Linked DNA regions of Homo sapiens: regions 1 and 2 are each linked to region 3. Evidence: promoter capture Hi-C in 16 types of primary human blood cells and fetal thymus (Javierre and others, 2016). All regions are on one chromosome and are shown on one strand. Each heading gives the region's core, a stretch centred on a gene start or on the middle of the fragment in contact. The rest is flanking DNA. Distances are from core to core; before and after follow the strand shown.

Evidence for each region. The method cuts DNA at HindIII sites, captures the fragments that hold promoters and counts their contacts. A CHiCAGO score of 5 or more calls a contact.
Region 1: a contact is called between the fragment with the promoter of RAB33A here and the fragment with the promoter of INTS6L in region 3, in 1 of 17 cell types (M0 macrophages). The highest score is 10.1, in M0 macrophages.
Region 2: the fragment with the promoter of ZNF280C here is called in contact with the fragment with the promoter of INTS6L in region 3 in 1 of 17 cell types (naive CD4 T cells); the score reaches 5.3 in naive CD4 T cells.

Annotation. Positions count from the first base shown.
Region 1 is chrX:130,168,401-130,173,231 of GRCh38, forward strand. RAB33A (RAB33A, member RAS oncogene family) reads left to right here and starts at 3,562. Exons shown (of 2, transcript NM_004794.3): 1 at 3,562-3,920. The coding sequence starts at 3,663. RefSeq lists enhancers at 2,286-2,335, 3,145-4,099 and silencers at 2,716-2,775, 2,946-3,025. The HindIII fragment of the contact is 5,739 bases long and covers 2,221-4,831 here.
Region 2 is chrX:130,266,876-130,271,881 of GRCh38, forward strand. It overlaps ZNF280C (zinc finger protein 280C), which reads right to left and starts at 2,024. Exons shown (of 19, transcript NM_017666.5): 1 at 1,887-2,024. RefSeq lists a silencer at 1,725-1,804. The HindIII fragment of the contact is 6,334 bases long and covers 1-3,556 here.
Region 3 is chrX:135,517,640-135,522,623 of GRCh38, forward strand. It overlaps INTS6L (integrator complex subunit 6 like), which reads left to right and starts at 3,021. Exons shown (of 18, transcript NM_001351601.3): 1 at 3,021-3,464; 2 at 3,602-3,679. The coding sequence starts at 3,354. INTS6L-AS1 (INTS6L antisense RNA 1) reads right to left here and starts at 3,035. Exons shown (of 2, transcript NR_046740.1): 1 at 2,928-3,035; 2 at 2,444-2,733. RefSeq lists enhancers at 3,175-3,254, 3,285-3,344 and silencers at 3,595-3,864, 3,925-4,124. The HindIII fragment of the contact is 2,771 bases long and covers 2,461-4,984 here.

The DNA.
Region 1 (4,831 bases), core at 2,312-4,811, 5.3 Mb before region 3:
GACGGGGTTCCACAATGTTGTCCAGGCTGGTCTTGAACTCCTGATCTCAGGTGATCGCCCGCCTCGGCCTCCCAAAGTGCTTGGATTACAGGCATGAGCCACCTCGCCCGGCCTACAAAGACACCCTTCTGTGAAGTTTAACCCAGGAAGTAGTTTTGTTTTTTGGTTTTCTTTAAGAGACAGTCTCATTACGTTGCCCAGGCTGGTCTTGAACTCCTGGGCTCAAGCAATCCTGCTGCCTCAGCCTCTCAAAGTGTTGGGATTACACGTGTGAGCCACTGTGCCAGGCCTAGGAAGTAGTCATTATGTGGTGAAGATGATCCAGGGCTCCCTTACCCATTAAGCAGAGTAGATCAGTGTTCAGAAGTGCAGGCAATGGGTGACATTTTATCTAGAGCTCCTTTGGATAAATATTGAAAATATGGTCAGGCTCTGTGGCTCATGCCTGTAATCCCAGCACTTTGGGAGGCCGAGGAGGGTGGATCACTTTAGGCCAGGGGATAAATATTGAAAGTATCAATTCCAGGCCGGGCACGGTGGCTCATGCCTGTAATCTCAGCACTTTGGGAGGCCAAGGCGGGCGGATCACGAGGTCCGGAGATCGAGACCAGCCTGGCTAACACAGTGAAACCCCGTCTCTACTAAAAATACAAAAAAATTAGCCAGGCGTGGTGGCGGGCGCCTGTAGTCCCAGCTACTTGGGAGGCTGAGGCAGGAGAATGGCGTGAACCTGGGAGGCGGAGCTTGCAGTGAGCCGAGATTGTGTCACTGCACTCCAGCCCGGGTGACAGAGCGAGACTCCATCTCAAAAAAAAAAAAAAAAAGTATCAATTCCAAAGTAAGGTAAAAATTATTTATATTTACTTAACATTTTAACAGCCTTGCATTGATTTTTATTGATATTTGTAAAAACCAATAATCATGGATTGATTAAATACAAAGTTAATTATATCTGATGGCAAAAGAGACTGGAAAACACTGTCAAAATCATGATAATCAGGTACCTATGAAAACAACTGCATGTATTTGAAAGTAATTTAATAATGCACAATTAACACAAAGGGCATTGTACAGTACATTTAATTTTTTTACAATAGGTACAATAAGGTAGTTTTCCTGTCCTTTTAATTAAAAATTATATTTTTATCTTTTTTCAAAAGCAATATATACTCATTGAATTAATTCCAAAAAATATAAGTGGAAATCCCCCAAAGTCTCACCCCACAGAAGTAACAGACACCTTTTATTAGGGCAAGAAGCCCATTTTGAGATATCATATTTTCAGAAATCAAAGTTTCTTCCTTACAAAAGTAGACTCAGTGACAAGTTTTTGCTAGAAGCTTACATTGAAATAATCTTATTATGTACATATGTTTTTTTAATATCTCTCAGGAAGTTAGCATTAATTCTAGCTGTGAATTGGCAAAGGGCAAAGCCCCTTTCTACTTTGTGTACAGGATGTACCTAATTAATAGTTACCCCTCTCCACCTTAAAGCTATTCTGTAGATAAAGATCATCAGGGGCATTAACTTCCAATACAGAGGGGAACGATCCAGCAAACTAGGCATCAGACTAATCAAAACCAAAAATACTGTACAATGATGATTGATACATAATACAATGAAAATTGGTATTCATAAGGATGATTTTGGATTAGCCAACTAAGAGGAAATCCTTATCTGGGTAGTTTTAATGCTGAGTAGTATAATGTAGGGTTTTAGAAATGGGCGACCCACATATATGATAAAAGGGTTAGCTGTAAATATATCTGCTAGCTCAGCTAATAAACTTATTAACTGGAAGATGCCATTCTGAGTAACTTGGACGTCCTTGAGTAGTCACATTCCAATTTGCTTTCAGGTATATCACTGATGCACTGAATTGTTTTTCTCTCAGCAGAAATGGATTTGGTCATGTTTGTCTCTTCCTGCAGCTCAACCTCCCAAATAAGATGGCAGCTCAACTGTGCTGTTTGAATCCCTGACCTTGATGGCATTAGCAATAACTCACGAGTCAGTGCTAGTGACATGTGTCAGTGTTACCTTAGCTTATGAAATATGTAGGGGGAGAGGTAAAGTCTTAAAAGAAACAAATGGGTGCACTTTATCGTATGTAAATTGTACCCCCAGTAAAGTCGATTTCAAACAAATTCTGAACCCGCGAATGACTTTAGGGAGAAGGAATACTGGTCTTGACCAAGATGTGTGTGATGATTAGTAAGCTTTGGGCAGCAGCCCCCTAATACTGTAAGGAGGTTGTGTTCATTTATCATCTTCCAAGCATAATCTAGGCTTCTGGCAAATTAGACCCAACCACTTTGTTCTACATTCAGCTGCAGGGGGAGGTGAACCCTCCTAGGGATTCCCAACTCCCTCTGAAACTCCAGCGTTCTGGAGGGACTTATGGTTATATGGAGGGCTTGGGAATGGAAGGCACTGTGGAGCTTATGCCATTGTCCCAAGATCCTCCACCTGGGCCAGTAATGGCTAGCCCCGTAAACAAAGTCCCCTTTTGCTGGAACTGCCACCACTAGCTTCCCCCCCTTCTCCTAGCCTCTGTGTGGCCCTCTCCCGCGGCGGGCCTTCCCCATTGGCCAGCCAAACACAACCGACTGCGGCAGCCAATAGGAGCCGCTCTCCTGAACATTCAGAGGATGGGTGCGCGTGGTGTGATAAGGGGATGTTGGCGCCTGGTACGCGCCCCCCTACATCTGGCAAGTCTGTAACAGAAACAGTTACACCCCCTACACACGCACACGCGTGCCCGCTGGCTCCCTCCTCTCAGCTGTACAGGCCCCGGACAACCCACTGCGTGTCTTGGCAGCGGCCTCCCAGGCTGCCTGGGGCCCGCGAGTGCACCTGCTCACTCATTAAGACAGAGCATCCCTTTATCCCAAGGCGCGGGTCGGGTAGAGGGTGGGGGTAGAGGGGACGGGGTAGCGGGGACCGGGAAGGCGCGGCTCAGCTGCCCGCTGCTCCCGAGGTGAAAGAGGTGCCTCCGCCCCCACCCCATCCCCGCAGAGTTGCGTTGCTCCAGGGAGGCCGAAGTGATCCAGTGATGTCTTAAGGTGCAGCTCTTTGTCCTCCCCAGCTGTGCTCCCTGCCCGCTGACCCCGTGCGCTCGAGCCAGTGGGGGTGGGGAGCCCGAAACCTATAACATAAACGGGGGCAAGGAGAAAGAAGTCTATCCCGGGGTGGCGTGTGCCGCTGTCCCCACCCCGTCTCTTTCCTCCTGAGGCTTCTTCCCTCGGGTCCGTCCCGGGAATGCAGGCAGGGGAGGGTGTGGGCCGAGGCGCGGCGGCGGCTGGAGCAGCGCGGTAGGGTCCTTCGCCAGAGCATCCGGTCCGAGGGCGCACACAGGCAGAAGGCTCGCGGCTCGTCCACTCTCCTCCCTCTCTCCTCCTCTCCCTGGCTTTTGTGTTGGTGCCTCCGAGCTGCAAGGAGGGTGCGCTGGAGGAGGAGGAGGGGGGCCCGGAGTGAGAGGCACCCCCTTCACGCGCGCGCGCGCACACGGTGCCGGCGCACGCACACACGGGCGGACACACACACACGCGCGCACACACACACGCACAGAGCTCGCTCGCCTCGAGCGCACGAACGTGGACGTTCTCTTTGTGTGGAGCCCTCAAGGGGGGTTGGGGCCCCGGTTCGGTCCGGGGGAGATGGCGCAGCCCATCCTGGGCCATGGGAGCCTGCAGCCCGCCTCGGCCGCTGGCCTGGCGTCCCTGGAGCTCGACTCGTCGCTGGACCAGTACGTGCAGATTCGCATCTTCAAAATAATCGTGATTGGGGACTCCAACGTGGGCAAGACCTGCCTGACCTTCCGCTTCTGCGGGGGTACCTTCCCAGACAAGACTGAAGCCACCATCGGCGTGGACTTCAGGGAGAAGACCGTGGAAATCGAGGGCGAGAAGATCAAGGTGATCCAGGGGGTCAGGTCCAGGAAGGGTGGGACCCGGGAGGGGACCTCGCCCGAGGCATAGCTCTAGCGGTTGTCGTCGTCCAGCGTCCAGCGCGTGGCGGTTTCGCCTCTTGCTGAGCCGAGGACCCTCGGCTCCTCCTCACCCCTTTTCACCTCTCTCAGCGGGGCCCCGTCCCCACTTCACTCAGTTTTTTAGGGCGGTTGAGAATGGGGTTGCATTCTTACCCTTAGCCCCTGCCTGACAGGTCCTGCCAGGAAAAGCATGTTGGATTCCCATCCATGACCCCTACCCCGAGCAGCGGCACCTGTGGGCAGAGGGAGGCAGGAGGCATCTGTGGGTCCTAGTCTCTGGGATGGATCCCAAAGCACTTTACACATCCTGATGTCTCTTCTACTGCTTGGGTGCCGATAGGCTGCAAAACCCCACTTTGGCTAAGCCTCAAGGCGTTAGAGGGAAGGAAATGATGGAAATCCATGGAGAATGAAAAAGCTGCTTTATTTTAAATTGCAGTTTATAGTTAAAAAATTAGGGCTGAGTTGAGATGGCGGTGGAGTGGGGTGGTTCTGGCAGAAAGCCATGAGCCCTTTTAAAGAAATTGAGGCAGGGTCCAGCCCTTCGTAATAGACAAAACTTGTTTTTTTGTAACAGCCCCCCTGGAATGATATCTTCTTTACTTGTCTGGGGCATCTAATACATGAACTGCTCCTTATTCATTCTGTTGGTATTGTCTTCAGGTCTTTGTAAAAATGCAGTGACTTAACCGAGGGCCAGGGGAATGTTCAATCCTCCCCCTCCATGAGTTTATGTAATAGGCTAAGTGCAAATATTCTTGTCTGACCATTTGTGCTCACCTTTAATTCAGAAAAGGTAGAAACCTGATATGACAGGAATATGTCAATGTGCAGGGG
Region 2 (5,006 bases), core at 774-3,273, 5.3 Mb before region 3:
GTGGATCACGAGGTCAGGCGTTCCAGACCAGCCTGGCCAACATAGTGAAACCCCATCTCTACTAAAATTACAAAAATTAGCCGGGCGTGGTGGCAAGGGCCTGTAACCCCAGCTGCTTAGGAGGCTGAGGTAGCAGAATCGGTTGAACCCGGGAGGCAGAGGTTGCAGTGAGCTGAGATCGCGCCACTGCACTCCAGCCCGGGCGACATTGCGAGACTCCGTCTCAAAAAAAAAAAAAAAAAATTACTGAGGAAATCAAATCTTTTTGAATCACTACTTAAGACAAACTCACTGAAAACCAAGTAGCTGAGATTTGGAGTTATTCAACCTAAGAACTTTTTCAATAGGATATTCTTCAACTCTTCAACATGCTTAGAAATAATATTAAAGTATGAAAAAGTCGAAAAAAAATGAAGCCTTAAAAATAAAAATATAAAGGAAAAAGGAATTGAATAATACTTCTTAAAACTTTTAAGTGAGCCTCCTTGCTTATTCTCCGTGACCACCTCACTCTCACAAAAAGTGAGACATAATATACCAAATTGAACATTGGATGAGGGTCAGAAAGCCTAGGTTTAAGAATTGGTTCCATCACTTCCTAGGCACATGACCTCGGTAAAGTTCTGTCCTTGAGGCTGTTTCCTCATCTTCAAACAGTTCTAACGACACCCTACAGCCCATCTCAAAAGGGGTGCTACCAATGAAATATACAAATGCAAGATACGATTATAATGGAATCTGTACTGCTGTAGAAACATCAAAGGTACACAGCCCTAATTTTACAAGCAAATCAGTGCCTTTGTAGGCTCAGTGAAGTTTCTGCGTAAGGAGATTAAGTTTGCACAGTAACCCCCAAACCAGGACACCTCACAAATACTAAGAGGAGACTTTTGCAGTTTAAAACTCTACTTCTAGGTTTCTATTTTATGTTTAGGGGCACTAAAAGACATTACAACTCATAGTCCAAACCTGAAAACAATAGTAAAAAAAATTTAAGGTCGCAGATTTAAAAAACTCCACAAAACTAACAAATCTTTCCAAACAAAGAGAATCCCCTGGATGAAGGTCTCCCGTGCTTGCAGAAGCTGGTTCACTTGACAATTTCCTCTCGAATTTCTCCTTAAAAAAGCATTAAAACCTGAGAGAAGTTGAAAGGAACTCCCTCCATCTCTAGAGCAGGAGTATACCTCAGCATAATTTTTTCCATCTCTTTAAGTAAAACCTGCAAACCTCCTAGTTAGAATATAGTGTATTTAACTCCACGTTTCTCCTCAGGGCTCTTATCCTCTAGACAATAACGGAATAGAGCACGATTTCTGTGACAGAGAAGGGAAGTCCCTTTGGCCAGAACAAGGTTGTGGGCATGGAATGACCGGTCCTGTGTGGGGGGAACCTGCGCAGAAAGAAGGGGTCACAGGGTCTCTGATGCCTGAAAGTTCGGAATCCCCTCAAGTCTCTTTTCGTTTGATTGAAGAGACTTGAGGGTGGGCGGGTCTCCGTCAAACATCAGTATCAACCGTACAAAAGACGAAAGGGAGTTGCCTCCAGAATGAAAAGCCCAAACCGGGTTGGAAACAGACCGACAGGACTCAGGAGGTGAGAAGGCTGCCGCAGCTGCCGCGGCCCGCGAAACCACTGCCCGCCGCGGGCCGCCAGGCTCTACCTCCAGAAAACCCTCCCCCTTCAGGGCCCGGCGCAAGATGGTGGCCCACCAGCTACCACGCCGCCAAGCCTGTCCCCTCCCCCGCACCCCCGTCGATCCGCACCGGCATAGAGACCCTCAGCCAGCCGCCCTCAGAACCGCCCTCTGGGGAAGGCTGCCTCGGCCGCGCGGGAGAGCTGCTGCCTCCTTCCGCGCGGCACAGGCGGGGGCGGGGGCCGCTTACCGAGAGCAGAGCAGATCGGTCTGACTGGGGTTCGGATAAGGAGGAGGAGAAAGAGGAGGAGGAAAGGGAGGAGCGCGAAAAACCTCAGGCGACAGCCTCAGCAACAGCGACTCCCCCGGAGACTTCCAGCGCGGAACCGGCGTCTCAGCCGGGGGCAGAAGTATATAACTGCACGCGCTGCCTCATGGGTAGACGCCGACTCCACCCCCTGAACATCCGGGGCCTTTTAACCGCCCACGGACGGACGGCTGGTACTTACATGTGCACATGTGCAGCTACTTTACTTACCGTCGAAGGCAGCGGAGGAAGTGTAATTGACTAGCGTGGATGCAGCTTTTCTAAGCAAACGCTCGATTTAACCTGGAGTTGTCATCCCAAAAAATACATTGTACCTGACTACAGAGAAACATGAATTCTGGGTCTTCCTTGTGTGTGAGGGCTAAAGACACGAGTTAAAAATATAAATATATTGTTTTCTGGAAATACTGTACTTGAAACACGTCTCAAAATACTAGTTATTTTTACCTTTTGTTTTAAACATATGGTTTTGCTTGTCTCTCTGTTACTTCTAATTGCCATATGGATGCCTATAGTAGGTACAAAAAATGCTAAGGAAAAATACATTTACTCTTACACACAAGGAAGACCCAGAATTCATGTTTCTCTGTAGTCAGGTACAATGTATTTTGTGGGATGACAACTCCAGGTTAAATCGAGCGTTTGCTTAGAAAAGCTGCATCCACGCTAGTCAATTACACTTCCTCCGCTGCCTTCGACGGTAAGTAAAGTAGCTGCACTTGTGCACATGTAAGTACCAGCCGTCCGTCCGTGGGCTGGCCGCGGTGGCTCACACTTCTAATTCCAGCACTTTGGGAGGCTGAGGTGGGTGGATCACCTGGGGTGAGGAGTTTGAGACCACTTCCCTTTCCTCCTCGCCTTTCTCCTCCTCCTTCTCTGAACCCCAGTCAGCCTGACCAACATAGTGAAACCCCATCTTTACTAAAAATACAAAATTAGCAGGGTGTGGTGGCACATGCCTGTAATCCCAGCTACTTGGGAGGCTGAGGCGGGAGAATCACTGGAACTTGTAAATACATTTACAAGAAAAACACTTGCCAAAATACTGCTTACAGAAACATTTTCTAGACATTGTGCTTTGAACTGTAAAAGTTTCTTCTCCCAAATTTCTCCACAAGGTTTATAGCAGTACTGGTTCATCTCTCTTTTTCTTTTTTGAGACGGAGTTTCGCTCTTGTTGCCCAGGCAGGAGTCCAATGGCGTGATCTTGGCTCACCGCAACCTCCGCTTCCCGGGTTCAAGTGACTCTCCTGCCTCAGCCTCCCGAGTAGCTGGGATTACAGGCATGCGCCACCACACCCGACTAATTTTGTATTTTTAGTAGAGACGGGGTTTCTCCATGTTGGTCAGGCTGGTCTCGAACTCCCCACCTCAGGTGATCTGCCTGCCTCGGCCTCCCAAAGTGCTGGGATTACAAGCGTGAGCCACCACGCCTGGCCCAATTCATCTCTTAAGAGTTGCCCAGACTGAAAATATCGTGTGGCTTACATAACACACACGTAAATCCTGTCACTGAATCCTACCATTTTTTTTATTTGAGCTAGTTTTTTCTTTCTTATTTATACAGCTATTTGCTTCTGACCCTGAAAATAAGCTTTACAGGAAAAGACAGAGAATAATCAAAATAAAACAGTGAAAAGTCCCAAAATCTTGGAGCATGCATAGTTGGTCCCTGCTTCCGGTCAGGGTGATAAGAAAGTCCGGGCACCTTTTCCTTTGATGCCAGCAGGAAATTTAAAACTAGCAAATCTACAGCCGCATGACTCTGCTTTTGGCTGTAGTGGGAAATTTAAAACTTGTGATTCTCCAGCCTGCCTCCTTCTTTGGCATTGGTGGGAAATTTAAAACTGGCAACAAAAATTGGTGCAGTTGAGAAATTTAAAACTTGCAAATCTACAGCCTGTGCGGCATTTTCACCAGCCCCACTTCCTAGATGCTATAAAGGCCCATCCAACTTCCTCTGCCTCTGAAACCAGCCCAGACCTGTTTGCAGCACCCAGCCCTCCCTCACTTACCCCCACTAGTCCCCAGGGTAATAAAATTTCTCTCAAATTCTCTTGTCATATCTAGTGTCACGAGTGTCCACATCCAACCTAAAATTACGAGGAGGAATGGTCAAACTGCCTCAGCAGGATGACCAGAAAACACTTATACACCCAAATTTCAATCTAACTTATTCTTTTTTTCGTGAAAAATACAGCCAAGAAGACCAGCGGGCTCTGGTCAGTTGACTGTTTGCAGACTCTGGTCAGCAAATTTTCTATCAAGATGAAAATTTGAGAAACTAAATAATAACAATAATTAAAAGGATGTCTGGTGAGAATGGAATTAACACATGGGAAATTGTTTGGGTGATTTTTAACTGTTCTTAAAACTCTTCCCCAGGCTTCTAGAAAACCACTCTATATTGGTTCTCTTGACTGGCTGGCCGTACGTTCTTTTTTATTTTTCAGCACTTCCAGTAAATGAGGGCTTACTCCTGTATAGGTTTTTCTGACAATTTTAAAAATTGAGACAAATTTACATGAAAAAAATCTACCATTTTGAAGTGTACAATAGAGTGATTTCTTATATATATTTACAGTATTGTGCAACCATCACTGCTATCTAATTCCAGAACATTTTCATTACCTCCCACCAAAAAACCTGCAAACCTATTAGTAGCCACTCCTAATTTCCTCCTATTTGTATCCTCTCACCAATCATTAATTAACGTTTTTTATCTATGGATTTGCCTATTCTGGATATCACATATAAATGTAATCATACAGTATGTAGTTTTTCATGTCTAGCTTCTTTCATTCACTATAATGTTTCTGAAGTAGGTTCATCCATGTTGTAGCACATATCAATTCGTTCTTTTCTCTCTTTCTCCCTCCCTCCCTCCCTCCCTCCCTCCCTCCCTCCCTCCCTTCCTTCCTTCCTTCCTTCCTTCCTTCCTTTCCAGATGGCCTCTGGCTCTGGCTCTTAGGCTGGAGTGCAGTGGGGCGATTTCCAGTCACGGCAACCTCCACCTCCCAGGTTCAAGCAATTCTCCTGCCT
Region 3 (4,984 bases), core at 1,771-4,270:
TCACAAAATAAAATATAAACTCCTCATAGGAAATCTTGTAATTCTTCAACCAAAGGCTAGTCTAAGCAACAAGTCAACCCAATGCATTTATTCGGTGGGCTGAAAGTTTGTACAGTATTACTCAAAATTGACTTTAACAGGCAGGGCACGGTGGCTCACACCTGTAAACCCAGCAATTTGGGAGGCCGAGGTGGGTGGATCGCTTGAAGTCAGGAGTTTGAGACCAGCCTGGCCAACATGGTGAAACTCCATCTCTACTCAAAATATAAAAATTAGCTGAGCATGGTAGCACATGCCTCTAGTACCAGCTACTCAGGAGGCTGAGGCAGGAGAATCGCTTTAAGCTGGGAGGCAGAGGTTGCAGTGAGCCGAGATCATGCCACTGTACTGCAGTCTGGGCGACAGAGCAAGATTCCATCTCATAAAAACTGTGAACTAGGCAAAGTTTGTTTCCAGGAAATAATCACATCCCCATCTTAATAATCCCATCCCTATCTAATATTAGGCACAATTCTTAGCTGGCCCCATGATCTCCAATCCTTGGTGTTACATCCTGTATAATATTCTTTCCTTGAGTGTGGGTGGGACCTGTGACTTGCTTCTAGTTGAGATTATCTACATTACATAAGGCTCCATCTTGGAGTAAGAGATTTCTCTGCTGGCCCTGAAGTAGCAGCTATGTTGTGAACAGCCAATGGAGAAAGCCATATGGCAGAGACCTGCAACAGAAGGTGGACCTGAAGGTGGCCTCTGGTCACCAGCAACAGCCCCAAGGAAATGAATTCTGCCAGAAATCTGAATGAGCCTGGAAGCCAGTTCTTTCCCAGGTGAACCTCCAGATGAAAACAGCCTGGCTGACACGTTGACTGCAGACTTATGAGACTAAGTAGAGAACCCAGGTAAACTTAGACCTCTGACTCATGGAAACTGTGAGATAGTAAATGCTTGTGTTGTTTTAAGCCACTAAATTTGTAATAATTTGTTAAACAGCAGTAGAAAACTAACACACTGCCCCCAACAGTCCTATATTTTTTGTACCCTAGCCCATGTAGGCATTGCCCTTCTACACTGACATTTGTATCGGAATGGAAATGGGGGCTTCTAGTATCTTTTTCATCCTTATTTCTTCATTAATTCCCTACTTTCCACCAGAATGGCCTGAAATGCACCATACATAGTACTATCTTTGGCTGAGTTTTTGTTCATATCATTCCTTCCAACCCAGATTCCCTCTCTTCCCTTTTTGTGCCTTGTTCGTGAAATCCTATGAATTTCTAGACTGGACCATTGTTTCCATAGCACTTTTTAACTTGCATCCTTGTTTGTCCCTGATTCATATACTGCCATATGACTTCTTTTAAAATCGTATTTCTCTGAGAATGTTATTGAATGTGCATATATAATATATGAAACATATACACAGAACATACATATATATATAGAGAGAGAGAGAGAGAGAGAGAGTGTATATAAAATATATAAAATACTTTTTTGAGATGTTATCTCATTCTGTTGCCCAGGCTGGAGTGCAGTGGTGTGATCTCAGTTCACTGCAACCTCCGTCTCCTGGGTTGAAGTGATTCTCCTGCCTCAGCCTCCCAAGTAGCTGGGACTACAGGCGCCTGCTCCCATGCCCGGCTAATTTTTGTATTTTTAGTAGAGACGGGGGTTTCACCATGTTGGCCAGGCTGGTCTCAAACTCCTGCCCTCAAATGATCCACCCACCTCGGCCTCCCAAAGTGCTGGAATTACAGGCATGAGCCACTGCGCCTGGCCAAAATATATAAAATATTATGTATGTATATGTCATCATCTCTCCTCAATGAAACTGCAAACTCATTGAAGTCCTGGATTCCACATTGTCAATAGTAATTGCCAGGAATACACAAGTCCAATTTTTAAAATTGTGTCATATGAAGTAGTCAATCAAGTGTGGTTGGCCACTTACTGAGTCTCTTCACAGAGCCAGACCTGAGAGTATCCGTAATTGTTACCCTAACCTCAGGGAGCTGCATTTTCCTCTACTGAAAATTGAATACAATGCCATCTGCCATAATTAATTCAAAGATTAAACAAGGCTACCGTGGGTGCCTGGCTCTTCATAGGCACTCAATAAATGTGAGTTGAGAGCCTGCCCCTGTGGTCCCAGCTACTTGAGAGGCTGAGATGGGAGGATCGCTTAAGCCCAGGAGCTGGACGCTGCAGGCAGCTATGATGGGGCCACTGCACTCCAGCCTGGGCGATCAAGCGAGATCCTCTTTATTTATTTATAAAAATAAATAAATAAATAAATATGTGAGTTGAATCACAATCTAGGTTTGCAAACCTCCATGTGTAAAGGCTGCGCAGAGGGAACAGTGGTGGAATTATCACAGGCAGGCCAATGTTTCAAAGAGCTTAGTGAAACTGAAGAAGCTTGTGCATACAAAAGGCCAGTTTAGGTAACTGTAACTGTGTTTAAGCTTTAGTTTCCTTTCTAAGTAGATATATGTGGAATGCAAGGCCAGCAACCAACTCACAAATACTGATCAAGACGGGGGAGGGATCTAAAGGAATGTGAGTACGTCCTGCCAGGAAAGAAGTTTGCTGCTTCTGAAATATTTTCGTCTTCGCCACTGGCAGGATTGATCGATTGCAGTTAGCGAAGAATTTTCTGTGCAAACTGTCCAAGCATCTGCTTCTGTACTTCTGTACAACTGTTGCTCAAATTCACTCTTCTTTTCGAATCACCATCTTTGAAGAGAGACAGAAAAATCCATTTAAACCACCCGAACTAATCATTCGAACTGCTTCCAAGTCCTTTAAAGGAGAATCCTAGCGAGGGTCCGTAACACTTCCCCTTACCCTCTGCCTGGGTTCAAACTTCAACTCCCAGGGTTCGCCCAAGTCCCTCCCCTAGTCCTGTCATCTAATGAATATGCAAATACCACATAATTGGCAGCCAATGGCATGGGTTCTGGTCACATGGTGCCGATGGTAGGTGAGCAGACAGAAGTTGTCAGTGAACAGAGACGGCGCTCAGTCTGGGGCGAGCGCTCTAGTGAGCGCGGACGGATGCTTAGGCAGTAGTCCTGGCAGCGGCAGTAGTGGTGGCAGCAGAAGAGAGGAAGGGGGAGGGCCCCGAGGGCTACACACGCTCACACTTTCAAGTTCCCTTGGAGGGAGAGGAGGTGGGGCTGCAGAAAGAGGAGGCCAGGAGCGGTCCCATCCGTCCCGTCCCGTCCCGTCTCCCCCTCTTCCTCTTGCTCCTTGCTCCCCGGCTCTGCGAGAGTTGAGGGTTCAGGTGGCCGTACGCGGCAGTGAGGGCAAGAGGGCCGGGAGAGTGGGGAGCGGAGGCAGGAGTGCGGGGGAAGATGCCCATCCTGCTGTTCCTCATAGACACGTCCGCCTCTATGAACCAGCGCACTGACCTGGGCACCTCTTATTTGGACATTGCCAAAGGCGCTGTGGAGTTATTCTTGAAGGTAAAGGGAGGGGAGGGGAGAGATGGGGAGAGCTCCCGAGGGATTTCAGGGTGTGGATTGAGGTGCTTCTGTAACGTTTGTATCGCCCTCCCCCCTCCTTTCCTACGCGACCCCCTCCGTCATCCCTTGCCCCGCAGCTGCGCGCCCGGGACCCGGCCAGCCGTGGAGACAGGTACATGCTGGTCACCTACGACGAACCCCCGTACTGCATCAAGGTAAAGGGGCTACGGGTGGGGGGACAGGCGGGAAGCGGGAGCAAGTCGGCGGGGGCTGCTTACCCCCCTGCCCCCGCCTAAGGCGGTCCTGCGTCGCCCGGCGGGGCGGGCGGCGAGGGGGTGCGCAGAGGGCGGGCGGAGTGGTGCCGTCGGCGGCTTCGGAGTAGCTGTCGCGCCTGGGGTCGGGGAGAGGGGACCGGGGAGGAGCAGCCCCGGGGAGAAACCGCAGGAGGGCCGAGCTCGTGGCGCGACAACCGCAGCCGCCTCGGAACATGGCGGACATTTTGCTTTTGTATGAGCCTGCGAGAGGGAGACTGAGGGCGCTGCTGAGATGGAAAGGAGGGAGGGGAGGGAGGAGCGGGGAAGGAGGGCCCGAAACCCGGAGGGAGGCTGCGAGGCGGGCCCGCCCCTTCGAGGCGCACCGCGCGAGGGTCGCCGCGCGGGGGGCCGGACGGAGCCTGCGACTCCGCCCCGAGGTCCTGCCGGCCGGGCGCGCGGGCTTTCCCGGAGCCTGGGCTCCTCCTCTGGCCCCTCCTTCCTCCCCCGGTCTTCCTCCCCCTCCTTGGGCTCTTCGCTGCATCTCCTCCTTCTCCCCCTCTTCCTCCTGGTCCCCTCCCCTTCCTGCTGAGAGCGTGGCAGAGCCAGCCGCCGGCCTTCAAAGACTAGACAACCGCCTTTGCACTCGTTGGCCTCTCACCACCCCCGCGCAATCGGAAATCTGTCCGCGACGCCAGTCTCCCCACCCCCAGACCCGGAGAAAGTCTTTGCGTTTCTGCTCCGGAATTGGCCAGGTTCAGCCCCGCTCTCAGTTACCTTAGCTACTGTTACTGTTTCATTGGAAATTCCAGCGAAGCAACGACACGGAGGGGGACGTGCCAAGTGCGAACCCACAGGGGCAGAGCTTTTTAGGGATCCGCTCTACCTATTTACATCATAAATTAGGTTTGTGCTAGCCACGTAGGAATTAATCCAGGGACAAGAAAGAAAGGAAGGGGAGGACTCAAATGTGAGCATTTGTAATAGTCAAGTTCGATGATTTGATTCTGACCTACAGGAGAAAAGTAGGGAGGACGGTCTCTGTGGGGTAATTTATGTTCCTATGGTGAGGAGATAAAGAACTGCTGCTTTGCCTGCAGTGGCCAGATAAAATGGAATTTAAACTGTTAAATCAACCTGCATAAGAGTCCTGCTTGCATATTGAAATTTTAAAAATACTACCACAATCCTTGACGTCTTTTGTTAGGCTTTTTCTTTTTTCCTCAGAATAATCGTAATAGTGCTAGGGAGACGCAGTCTGGATGTGTT